3 separate regions of the Homo sapiens genome follow, and all the other regions are linked to region 1. The links are contacts of gene promoters, found by promoter capture Hi-C in blood cells and fetal thymus (Javierre and others, 2016). All regions are on one chromosome and are shown on one strand. Each heading gives the region's core, a stretch centred on a gene start or on the middle of the fragment in contact. The rest is flanking DNA. Distances are from core to core; before and after follow the strand shown. Region 1 holds the start of CAVIN1 (caveolae associated protein 1). Region 2 overlaps RAB5C (RAB5C, member RAS oncogene family). Region 3 holds the start of DHX58 (DExH-box helicase 58).

Region 1 (3,543 bases), core at 135-2,634:
ACCAGCCCCTCTTGCACTCCTGACGCCCACTCTTCCCCGCCCAGCCCCGCCCGCTTCCAGGAGGCCCAGGGTGCCAGCGCGCCGCGGGTGAGGGTGTCCTCAAGGGCCTGAAAATGCCTGGTGGCCAGGAGCAGAGAGCAGCGAGGGGACAGGGGTGGGCCGCCGAGGCCGATGTGGGGGCGCGGGGGCGCAGGGTCTGGGGAGGAGGTTGGCGGTCGCGTTCCCCGCTTGGCACAGCCCCCGCTGGTGCGTGCCTGAGCCCTGAATCACCCGCTATATCAGGCCCGCAGGCGCAGAGGCCCCAGGCCCGGGCCCCGCAGCCAGTGTCCGCTTACAGCGGACCCCAACGATCGCGAGGGACCCCTGACTTTCCTAGAAACTTCCCCCAAGTAGGAAGAAGTTTGACAGAGCCAATTAGGGAGGGAGCGGTCTGCGAGGGGCAGCGTCCTCGAGTCCACCCGCTAATTCGGTTCTGCTACAAGTTTGGGACCCGAGGGAAGGATCTGAGTGGGGAGGTGCGAGGTGCAGAGCGCGCCCCTCTACGCGCCCCAGGAGTCCGCCGCTCCCTCCACCCCATCCTACCCCACCCAACCCCACCCCAGCCGCGCTCACCGGAAGGAGGGTGGATCTGCCGGGCGCCCGGGCCAGGCTGGGAGGGGAGCAGCGCCACGGGCAGGTCTCCCCACCCCAACTCCCAGGCAGGGGACGCGGGCCGGGCGCGGGAGCTCTGGGCGCCTTCCGCCCTGTGGGCTCACCTGGTAGATCATGACTTTAAAGTTGCGGCGCCGCAGCAGCTCGGCCTCGTTGACCTCCAGCTTCTTGATCTGCCCCGCCTGGCGCTCCAGGCTGCCGCGCACGGTCTTCACGTTGACGCTGACCTTGCGCACCTTCTCCAGCAGCTTGCTCACCGTATTGCTCGTGGTGGCGTGCGCCTTGCCCAGCTTGCTCAGCTCGCCCTGGATGCTCTGCACTGCGCCCTCCATCTCCGCCTGCCGCTCCTCCAGCTGTGCTTGAGTCAGCTGGATCTGGTCTACGGCCCCGATGATTTTGTCCAGGAGGCTCAGCACCAGCACGCCGTTCACCTGGTCCGACTTGATCAGCTCTTCTGAGCCGGCCCCCGACGGCTCCTCCGCTGCCTGAGCCCCAGCGGAGGAAGGCTCCGGGGCCTCGGCGTCGGGGTACCCGGGAAGCGGCCGCTCGACAATATAGAGCGTGGGGTCCTCCATGGCTACCCGGAGCCGTGCGGGACCGGCCGGGTGGGGCTGGAGCTGGAGCGGGAGACCCGGAGAGAAGCAGGAGCGGAAGGGAGGAGAGCTAGCGGGCGAGAGCGGAGAGCAGAGGAAACTCGAGCCACGTCCGTGCGCACCGGGACAGCGGCCAGAACTGCTGGGCGGGGGATCGGTGAGCTCCCCAGCTCCCGGGCCAAACTCCGGAGTCTGATCGCTGATTGGCTGGCCCCACCCCAGAAAGGGAGGGACCGGGGCAGAAGGGGAGATCGACGAGGCGGGGCGGCGGAGGGGGACCCAAGAGCCGAGCGCCCCACCCTTCCCGGGATGGTTGGAATAGTTGGAGCGGGAGACTAGGGCCTCCGCTGGCGGCGGGAGCGGGACGGGCGGAGGAATGCGAGCTGAGGAACGGAATCAGGTTCTAAGAGTGTTGCTCTCTGTTTCCCTCTCACTTGAATTGCTCATCCGAAAATCCTCAAGATCTGGGAGCCGGGTGGACCAGGAGATTCTGAAATTATAGGCAAAATCTTGTATTTGCCTTTACCTAGATTTTGAGCACAAAAGGACCCTTGCCCTTTACAATATTTTCTAAGAGGCCTCTCGGATTTCCTCATCACCAACCCCAACCAGGTTACTAACTCAGGGGTAAGCTTAGGGGGTTGTTTGTGGGGGGCGGGGGGAGAAAGAGAGAACGTATTTGGGGTCACGGTGGTGGTGAAGGGCTGCGAAGCTCCTCTAAGTTCTTTTTAGAATTGCCCTAACAGAGTAGAATTAAGATGGGCAATCAAACGGAAAATAAAGCCCACCTCCCAACCCCCCTTTCTGAGACAGGGTGTCACTCTGTCACCCAGGCTGGAGTGCAGCGGTCTGATCACAGTTCACTGCAGCCTCGACCTCTTGGGCTCAGGCAATCCTCCCACTTCAGCCTCCTGAGTAGATGAGACTATAGGCGCTTGCCACCACGCCCAGCTAATTTCAATTTTTATTTTTTTCAATTTTTATTTTTTTAAGAGACGGGGTGTACACTATTTTGACCAGGCTGGTCTCGAACTCCTGAGCTCAAGTGATCTGCTGGTTTCAGCCTCTCAAAGTGCTGGGAGCCACCGCGCCTGGTGTAAAGCCCTTTTTAAAAGCCCACCTCTCTTAGGCCAGGCGCGGTGGCTCATGCCTGTAATCCCAGCACTTTGGGAGGCCCAGGCGGGTGGATCACGAGGTCAGGAGTTCAAGACCAGCCTGGCCCAAGATGGTGAAACCCCGTCTCTGTTACAAATACAAAAATTAGGCCAGGCGCAGTGGCTCATTTTGGGAGGCGGAGGTGGGTGGATCACCTGAGGTCGGGAGTTCGACCTCAGCCTGACCAACATGGAGAAACCCCATCTCTACTAAAAATACAAAATTAGCCAGGCGTGGTGGCGCATGCCTGTAATCCCAGCTATTCGGGAGGCTGAGGCAGGAGAATCACTTGAACCCGGGGGGCAGAGGTTGCAATGAGCTGAGATTCGCGCCATTGCACTCCAGCCTGAGTGGAATTCTACAGAGTAGAATTCCTCTTTTTTCCAAAAGCTTTTTCAATCCTTAGTAGAAGGAATTTAAATTACTTTAATACATTTCTCCTAAATTCTAAAGTAAGTTGGTAATCTGCCAGTTGGTAATCCACTGTCTGAGTGCAGACAGAGTGAGACTCTGTCTCAAAAAAACAAAAAAAACAAAAACAAAAGCAACCCACAAACCCACGTCTCACCTCTCTCTAAAACTCACCTTTCCCTGTGTTCCCCCTCCCACCGCCCCCTCAGAGGCAGCTGACACCAATCTCAGTGAGCAGGATCTAGGAGTCCATTTCTCTTTCAAGATTCCAGGGACTAACAGTAAGCCATCGGAGAGACCATCAAATCCCACCCCCTCATTTGACAGACAGGAAAAGGAAAGCCTGCAGAAGACAGGTGGCTTGCCAGAGATCACTCGCAGGTTAGTGTTGGCATTGGCACTTGAACCCAGGTCTGGACTCCTGCTTTCATGCTCTTTCCACCTTCTGCTCTAAGCCTTCCACTGGGGCAGGGAGACAGGCACCCACAGCCACTCCCCAACTCCCATGTGCTGTTTCAGAAGATTAACCAAAGCATATTTTCATCCATGCTGGGTACAAGGGAGCAGGCAATTCTGAGCAGGCCCAAGGAGGGTCCTTAGTGCAGAAAGTCCAGAAATAGGGAGGCTGCCCATCCTCCCCCATTTTGCTGTCTAGCACAGCACTGGTGCTGTGAGTGTCTGAAGTGGCGCCAGCTCCCTTTCCCACAGAAAAGCGGCAACCCTTTTCCCTCCT
Region 2 (3,368 bases), core at 280-2,779, 290 kb before region 1:
GGTGGAGTTTGGATTTTTATGTATGTGTCTGGGGGACGGGGTCTGCACAGGCTTTGCAGACCCAGCCCAGGCAACGGCAGGAGAAGGGACTCCTGCATGCACTGAGCCATCTCAGGACCACTCTCTGAAGAGCAACACAGCAGGGGCAAGAGAGGGAAAGCCTAGGGGAAGCCTACTCCAAGCACAGAAGGGTGAGCGCCCTCAGACCTCCTCCTCCGCCACTCAGAGAACAGACCAGCAGCTAGGGACCGCTCCACCCCTCAGTTTGCTCCAGCCCAGGGGTGTCACTGACCTTGGGTTTCCTAAGGACATTCTCACACACTTAGCTATGCTGGGGAAGTACACACTGTTCCACCACCAGGCTGAGGCTGGGTGGCCGGCTTCCCAACCACCCCTACCACCTCCAGGCACTCCAGCTAGCCACCGCCCCTAGCTCTGACCCAGACCTGTTCCTGTATGGCCACCCTGTGACCTGACCTTCAGTCACTAAGAGGTGACTCCTTAGGGGAATGCAGGGTGCCTGTACACATGCTTCAAAGGAGGAGTCCAGAGCTGGGACAGACAGCAAAAGGCCCCTTTGCCCCTGGACCCAGCAGAGAACCCAGGACAGCCATGTGTAGAAGGCTGCTTTCCTGGTCTGCCCTCCCCCAGCTCACTGAGGGACATGGGGCACTGCCTCACTTCCCCTCTCCAGCTCCTGACCCAAATGCTGAGGAGGCAGCAGGGAGACTGCTGACATGGCCCATTTTGTTTCCAGCTGCCTAGAAACCTCCTACCAAGAGAGTAGAGAAAGGATGACTCAAGGCCAAGGCCAGCGTTGGCCCCTGCCTCTTGATGTGTGTGTTAGCCACGGAGGCAAGAGGCCGAGGCCAGACCCTCACTCACATCCTAAATGCTGACCACTGGAAAATCAACAACAGGCTGTGAGCTCCAGAAAGGGTAAAGTCAGCTTCAGAAACACCCACCTATCACCCAGCTCCGACTCACCAGGCTGTTCCTTCTTCTGGAAGTGGGAAAGGCCAGGGCACATGGACCACCCATTATAGTAAGAAGGGGCCTCAAAGATCCAGAGTCAGCTCTCCCTCCATGAGGCCAGGGCAGTGAAAGGGCCTCAGCCAAGGCCACACAGATCAAGAAGGGGCAGAAACAGGATGGGAAGCTAGCTTTCCACTCCCAGCAAATGCTTACTAGCGATGCTTGAGGGGACTCTGGCATGGAGACCAGTTGCTGGGCTCAATTCCAGGGCCCAGGTGAGGAAGTGGGGCTGCCACCACAGACGCATTTAGTCCCTAATGCAGGCAGGCAGCTTCCCATCTCCTCAAGGTCAAAGCATTTCTTTGGCAACCTTCAGGCCCCTCCCCGACTCCCTCATGCCCACTCACCTCCAATTGTGCTCTCCTGGTACTCGTGAAACTGTCCCTTGACAAAGCGGAGGACGAGGCTGGATTTGCCTACCGCAGACTCCCCCAGCAGAACCAGCTTAAATTGACAGATCTTGTTCCCAGCAGCTGGTCCATTGGGTCGTGCTGCGCCTCCCCGACCCGCCATTGCCCGTCCAGCTGTAGTGGTCCAGAGAGCGTGCGGGTGGGGACTGGTGCTATGCAAAGAGGCACTTAGTGGGGAGGGGGACCTCCAACTGTAAGGGAGAAATGAGAAGTACTGAGTTAGTTCAGAGGCCGTCACCCGCTGTGTCCTTCTTAAATTACAGATCTTTCCCTCTGGCCTCACTGAAGACCTAGCTGACTGCTTCCCCTCACCTCACCTCCCTGCCCTCCCCACTAGAGGTCAGGAGGCCCCACTGGGCTATACTAGATGTCTACCGGCTCTACCACCATCTGAGCTGTAAAGAGGAGAATGGTCTCCCAACTTCAGGCTCATGGTTCTGAGCAAACACATTGACTTCTGGATCCCAAATATGTACATTCACCTACAAATAAACACACACAGGCGATGAATGAATGTGTGACAGCCTGGTGACAGTTAAGTCAACAGGCTTTTGGGGCAAAATTAAAACAAAACAAAACAAAACAAAAGCTCAGGAAGACACTAGGATTTAGATCAATAATGAAGTTCCAGTCTGGTAGCCAGGACCACAGTGGTGAGGCAGACAGGGGCCCAAGAGGTCCTGGTAGAAAGCTCCTCAGAGAAGGTGCTTGGCCAACCTCATGGCCATTCAGGGACCAGGGCCTGGCCAGCACAAGTTGTTATTAACATAGCCATTTTTCTCCTGCCACCTTCAGAAGGACTGACCGACTTTCAGTCTAGGGCTGGACTGTGTGCCTCTGTGCACCAGAATCAAAGCAATGTTTCACTCTCTCATCCTGATCCTTCTTCCCTAGTTCTCTCATTTTTGATGGGCCAAAGTCTCGCACCCATTAAAAAACAAAACACACACAGAAACAAACACATAGTAAAACACACACCGATACACACACACAAACACACACAGAAACACACACACCGGAACAAATACACACTGAAACACACACACACACACACAAAAACACATGCCAACACACACACAGAAATACACACCAAAACAGACACCAAAACAAAACACACACCGAAACAAACACACACAGAAACACACACCAAAGTCATAGCTCTGCCACAGTCAGCACAGCTACCAACTTTCCCTTTTTCAATAGAGACCTCAGTTCCATTCTCTACTGGCAGAGATGGGGCGATGGAGAGAAAGAAGAGGCAGGAGGTGTGGGAGGGCAGAGACCAAGTCCTGCATCCCCAACAGCTGGTGTTCCAGTCCCGACATCTGAATCACTTGGTTAGTGACAGCTTCAGAGGCTCAACTTTTTGTTTTTGTTAAGTTTTGGAATTGCAGACACATGAGGAGCCTATCTCTAGAAGCCTCTAGAAGACATAAGTGGATGTCTCATCAGACATATACATCTGATGTCAACAGACATCAGAATATATACAGAATGTTTTACAAACAGGTCCTGTGAGTAGGTATTAAGTACTGAACACTGTTCAGCATTTGAACCTGGGTTGGAAAGAAAAGGTTTTTATTAGGCTGCCCTTTGCATAATGGAGTCTAAGATCCCAGGGAGAGCCCCGATCTGCCCCTGAGCAAGGGAAGTACATTCCCTCATGGTTAAGGGACAGCAATGTGGATGAACAGGAGGTATCTGTGGGAAGCAAATGGTCCACATTCATGCAAGAAGCTGACAGCAAAGGGCTTGTTTTGTTCAACCTCAAATCGTTTTCCACATCCAAGTTCTCCCAGCAACTCATTTAAAAAGTGAGCTTCAGGAAGAATGATTCACTAGCCAGAAACAACAGTTTCCTTTCTGGAGAGAACCAAAGGAAAAGAGGTTTGAAATGGGGCCCACCTCTTCCCCAAAAGTACA
Region 3 (3,110 bases), core at 442-2,941, 310 kb before region 1:
CTGCAGCTGGTCCCAGGATGAGGAGCCAGGCAGGGAAGACTTCTTTCCATTTCACAGATTAGTAAACCGAGGCTCAGCTGGGGAAGGGACTGGCCTAAGATCCTACACGATAGCCCGGCCTGTTTCTACTAGAGTGCCTGCAGGGGTTTTGTGAACAGGCAACCCCTCACTCCCACTAAAACTCCCAACACCTTGACTCCAGGAGGTGCCCTGGGGTTGGCGAAAGGAGGTACCCCAGATGCGTATCTTTTTCCTCCCGGCCATGGCCCTCACCAGTGAGCTCCACGTGCTCCTCCTCCTCGGGGCTGGTCAGTGCCATCTGCAGAAGCTCTGCTGTGCAGATGAGCAGGTCATGGCACCGGGCCAGGTGGCCAAAGCCAGCACGTGGTCCCATGTCCCCACTCAGGGTTGTCACGGTCCAGCGTCCATCCAGCATGCGCCTGAACTCTTCACCATGCTGGGTCACCAGGTGCACCTGGGGGTGGAGAATGAGCTGGGAAAAGAGAGCTGAATCTGGGGCCAGGGGTAGGGAGGCGGTAAGGTGACCCGCAGGACATGGCTGGGTACTGAGCCAGGGTGGAAAGACAGGTGAGCTTAGCGATGGCCACAGCAGCTTTGGAGTTCTGGTGGGGACTGGGAGATGCCTGAAGAGCTAAGACCCTGCTTGGTGGTGGGAGAGCGGGGTAGGGACAGACCACTCACCCTGTTGACCAATACAACCACCTTGGCTCCATCCACAGTCTCTAGGTGCCGCTTGGCCACATAAGCAGCCGCCCGGGTCTTCCCGGCACCCGTGGGCAGCCAGATGATGATATTCTTGCCCTCCAGGGCAGGCATGATCACCTCCCATTGGTAGGACCGAAGCTCCATTCTGGGAATGGCAGGGGACTCAGACCCACCGACTCCTCCACCCCTCCCAACTCCTGGCCAGACCAGTCAGTACAGAGACCTCCCTTTGCCCAGGACTCCACCCCACTTGAGGGAGGTGGGGCAGGACTCCCTCAGAACCCATCAGGACCCTGCTCTGCCCAAAAGGGGGAGGCGGGAGTAACACAGGCTACACCTGCCCCCTGCCCAGCCCAGGACTCACCTGCTCTAGTAGGTAGGTCTGCCCAGGGCAGTCCCACTTAACTCAGCCTGGTGCCACTCTGCTCAGCTCAGAGACCCAAGATGGAAACTGAAACTGAGGGAAGGAGCCAGCTGAGCCGACTTAGGAATCTCCCATCCCCGCCCCAGGAAAAAGAACCAAGAGAAAAGAACCGTTTGTGCTAACAGTCATCGCCAACTGCCGTGAGTACAAACTCCGGTTAAGTACTGCTGCTGCGCCAGCGCCCTGGCAGGCATGATCACCTCCCATTGGTAGGGCCACAGCTCCATTCTGGGAATGGCAGGGGACTCAGACCCACTGGGCCCTCCACTCATCCCAACTCCTGGCCAGAGCAGTCGGTACAGAGACCTCCCTTTGCCCAGGACTCCACCCCACTTGAGGGAGGTGGGGGGGGGGACACCCTCAAAACTCATCAGAAGCCTGCTGTGGCCAAAAGGTGGGGGTGGGGGGGGGTGGGAGTAACACAGGCTACACCTGCGCCTTGCCCAGCCTGGGTCTCGCCTGCACCACCACGTAGGCCTGCCCAAGGCGGCCCTGCTTAGCTCAGCCTGGTGCCGCTGTGCTCAGCGCAGAGAGCAGAAATCAGAAATGGAAACTGAAACTGAGGGGAGGAGCCAGCTGAGCCGACTTACGAATCTCCTATCCCTGCCCCAAGAAAAAGAACCACGTGTGCTAACAGGGAAGCACTCTTTCAGTGCTACAGGATCCTCTACGCTCTGGCCCTTCTGCAGTCAGTTGTAACCACATCCACCCAGGTTAAGGTGAAGGCAGGAGGTTCTGACCCCTGCTGCCCTGGCATCTGGATCAGGAGCAGCCTGGAGGAGGGAGAGGTGGGGGGCTGCAGGCAGGTAGGACCCATCACCCCAGGAGCACAGGACCAGGCCTGAGGCTTGCTGGGGAGAGCAGCCTCCAGTTTGCAAGAGGTCCCTGGGGGCCAAGGTGAGCCTGCTAAGGCTGGGACTACACCAAAGAAACAATCACACAGAGAAATAAAAAGCTTTATTATTCCCTCTAAGGGATTAATGCCAGGGAATGAATGGTCCCCATACCCCCCACCCCTGGGGGAGACTGACAGAACAGTGCTGGACAAGGCATGGCCCCCTTCAGTTTGGGCTGAACTTCCAACCCCTGAAGCCATCACTCAAGCTAAAATGAGCAGTTCTGGTCCTCAGGGAAACAGCCACCTGGGCCAGGCCCAGGAATCCAAGCCTCCAAAGCTCTTGGGGACCAGGCCTGGGGGCCACCACGGCTGGGCAAGGTTCATCCCTGGCCACCAGCTACTCTAGAGGGGCTGGGCCCCAACCCAGGAGACCTCTCACACACAGTGAAGGCTGGGACAGAGCTGCACGCTTGGGGGTGCCTGAAGGTCCAGAAAGAGCTGCAGGATCGGGTCCGGAGGACCCTTGGCTGGAGTGTCTCAAGCTGAGTCGGGTCCGTGGGGCCAGGGCACCCCCTAAGGATCAGATCAGAATCCGAGGTGGAGACATTCCAGGTCAGGGCTGCGGCCCAAAGATGGGCCTACTTGTCAATGAGGCCTCCCTCCTTGAGCTTGAAGTAGAAGAACTTCTCCAGGGCGCTGGCACAGCGGCAGTACTCGCTGTCCGGGGGGTTGTACTCGCGACAGTTGGCGATGACCCGCTGCAGGTCGGCCACAAAGAGCTTCCGGGTCACGTAGTAGCGGCTTCGCAGCCGCTCAGTCATGGTCTTCAGGTCTGGGGCAGCAGGAGACGGAGCACAGCTTTAAGAGGCTGAAGACCACGGCAGGGCTGTCCACCAGGGTGGGCCCCCTGGGGCTGCAGGGCGCAGTGAGGGCAGGAGCAGGTGTGGGGACAGAAGAGGAGGGAAGGGGATGGAATGGAAGGTCCTCACCAATGGGGAAGCGGATGACCTCGTAGTAGTCAGGGGCCTCCGACTTCTTCACAGGCTCCATGAAGGGCCAGGCACTGGGGTGAGACTGGAGAGAAGAGCCGGGCTGGGGACAGCCCTGCTGCGCCCACGCCAG

The links. Contacts are between HindIII fragments. The CHiCAGO score rates a contact against its expected background, and 5 or more counts as called.
Region 2: a fragment that was not itself captured here is called in contact with the fragment with the promoter of CAVIN1 in region 1 in 1 of 17 cell types (activated CD4 T cells); the score reaches 5.1 in activated CD4 T cells.
Region 3: a contact is called between the fragment with the promoter of DHX58 here and the fragment with the promoter of CAVIN1 in region 1, in 1 of 17 cell types (fetal thymus). The highest score is 6.0, in fetal thymus.

What each region holds. Positions count from the first base shown.
Region 1 is chr17:42,421,872-42,425,414 of GRCh38, forward strand. CAVIN1 (caveolae associated protein 1) reads right to left here and starts at 1,385. Exons shown (of 2, transcript NM_012232.6): 1 at 756-1,385. The coding sequence starts at 1,226. LOC102725238 (a long non-coding RNA gene) reads left to right here and starts at 1,317. Exons shown (of 4, transcript XR_007065758.1): 1 at 1,317-1,401; 2 at 3,020-3,191. The HindIII fragment of the contact is 2,664 bases long and covers 1-1,874 here.
Region 2 is chr17:42,128,955-42,132,322 of GRCh38, forward strand. It overlaps RAB5C (RAB5C, member RAS oncogene family), which reads right to left. Exons shown (of 6, transcript NM_004583.4): 2 at 1,383-1,636. The coding sequence starts at 1,548. Among named protein-coding and RNA genes, the nearest start is that of HSPB9, 7.8 kb to the left of the region's middle. The HindIII fragment of the contact is 4,670 bases long and covers 1-3,368 here.
Region 3 is chr17:42,111,023-42,114,132 of GRCh38, forward strand. DHX58 (DExH-box helicase 58) reads right to left here and starts at 1,692. Exons shown (of 14, transcript NM_024119.3): 1 at 1,583-1,692; 2 at 1,091-1,183; 3 at 703-871; 4 at 274-475. The coding sequence starts at 870. KAT2A (lysine acetyltransferase 2A) reads right to left here. Exons shown (of 18, transcript NM_021078.3): 17 at 2,978-3,062; 18 at 2,089-2,820. The coding sequence ends at 2,627. RefSeq lists enhancers at 1,200-1,299, 1,540-2,059. The HindIII fragment of the contact is 8,851 bases long and covers 1-2,103 here.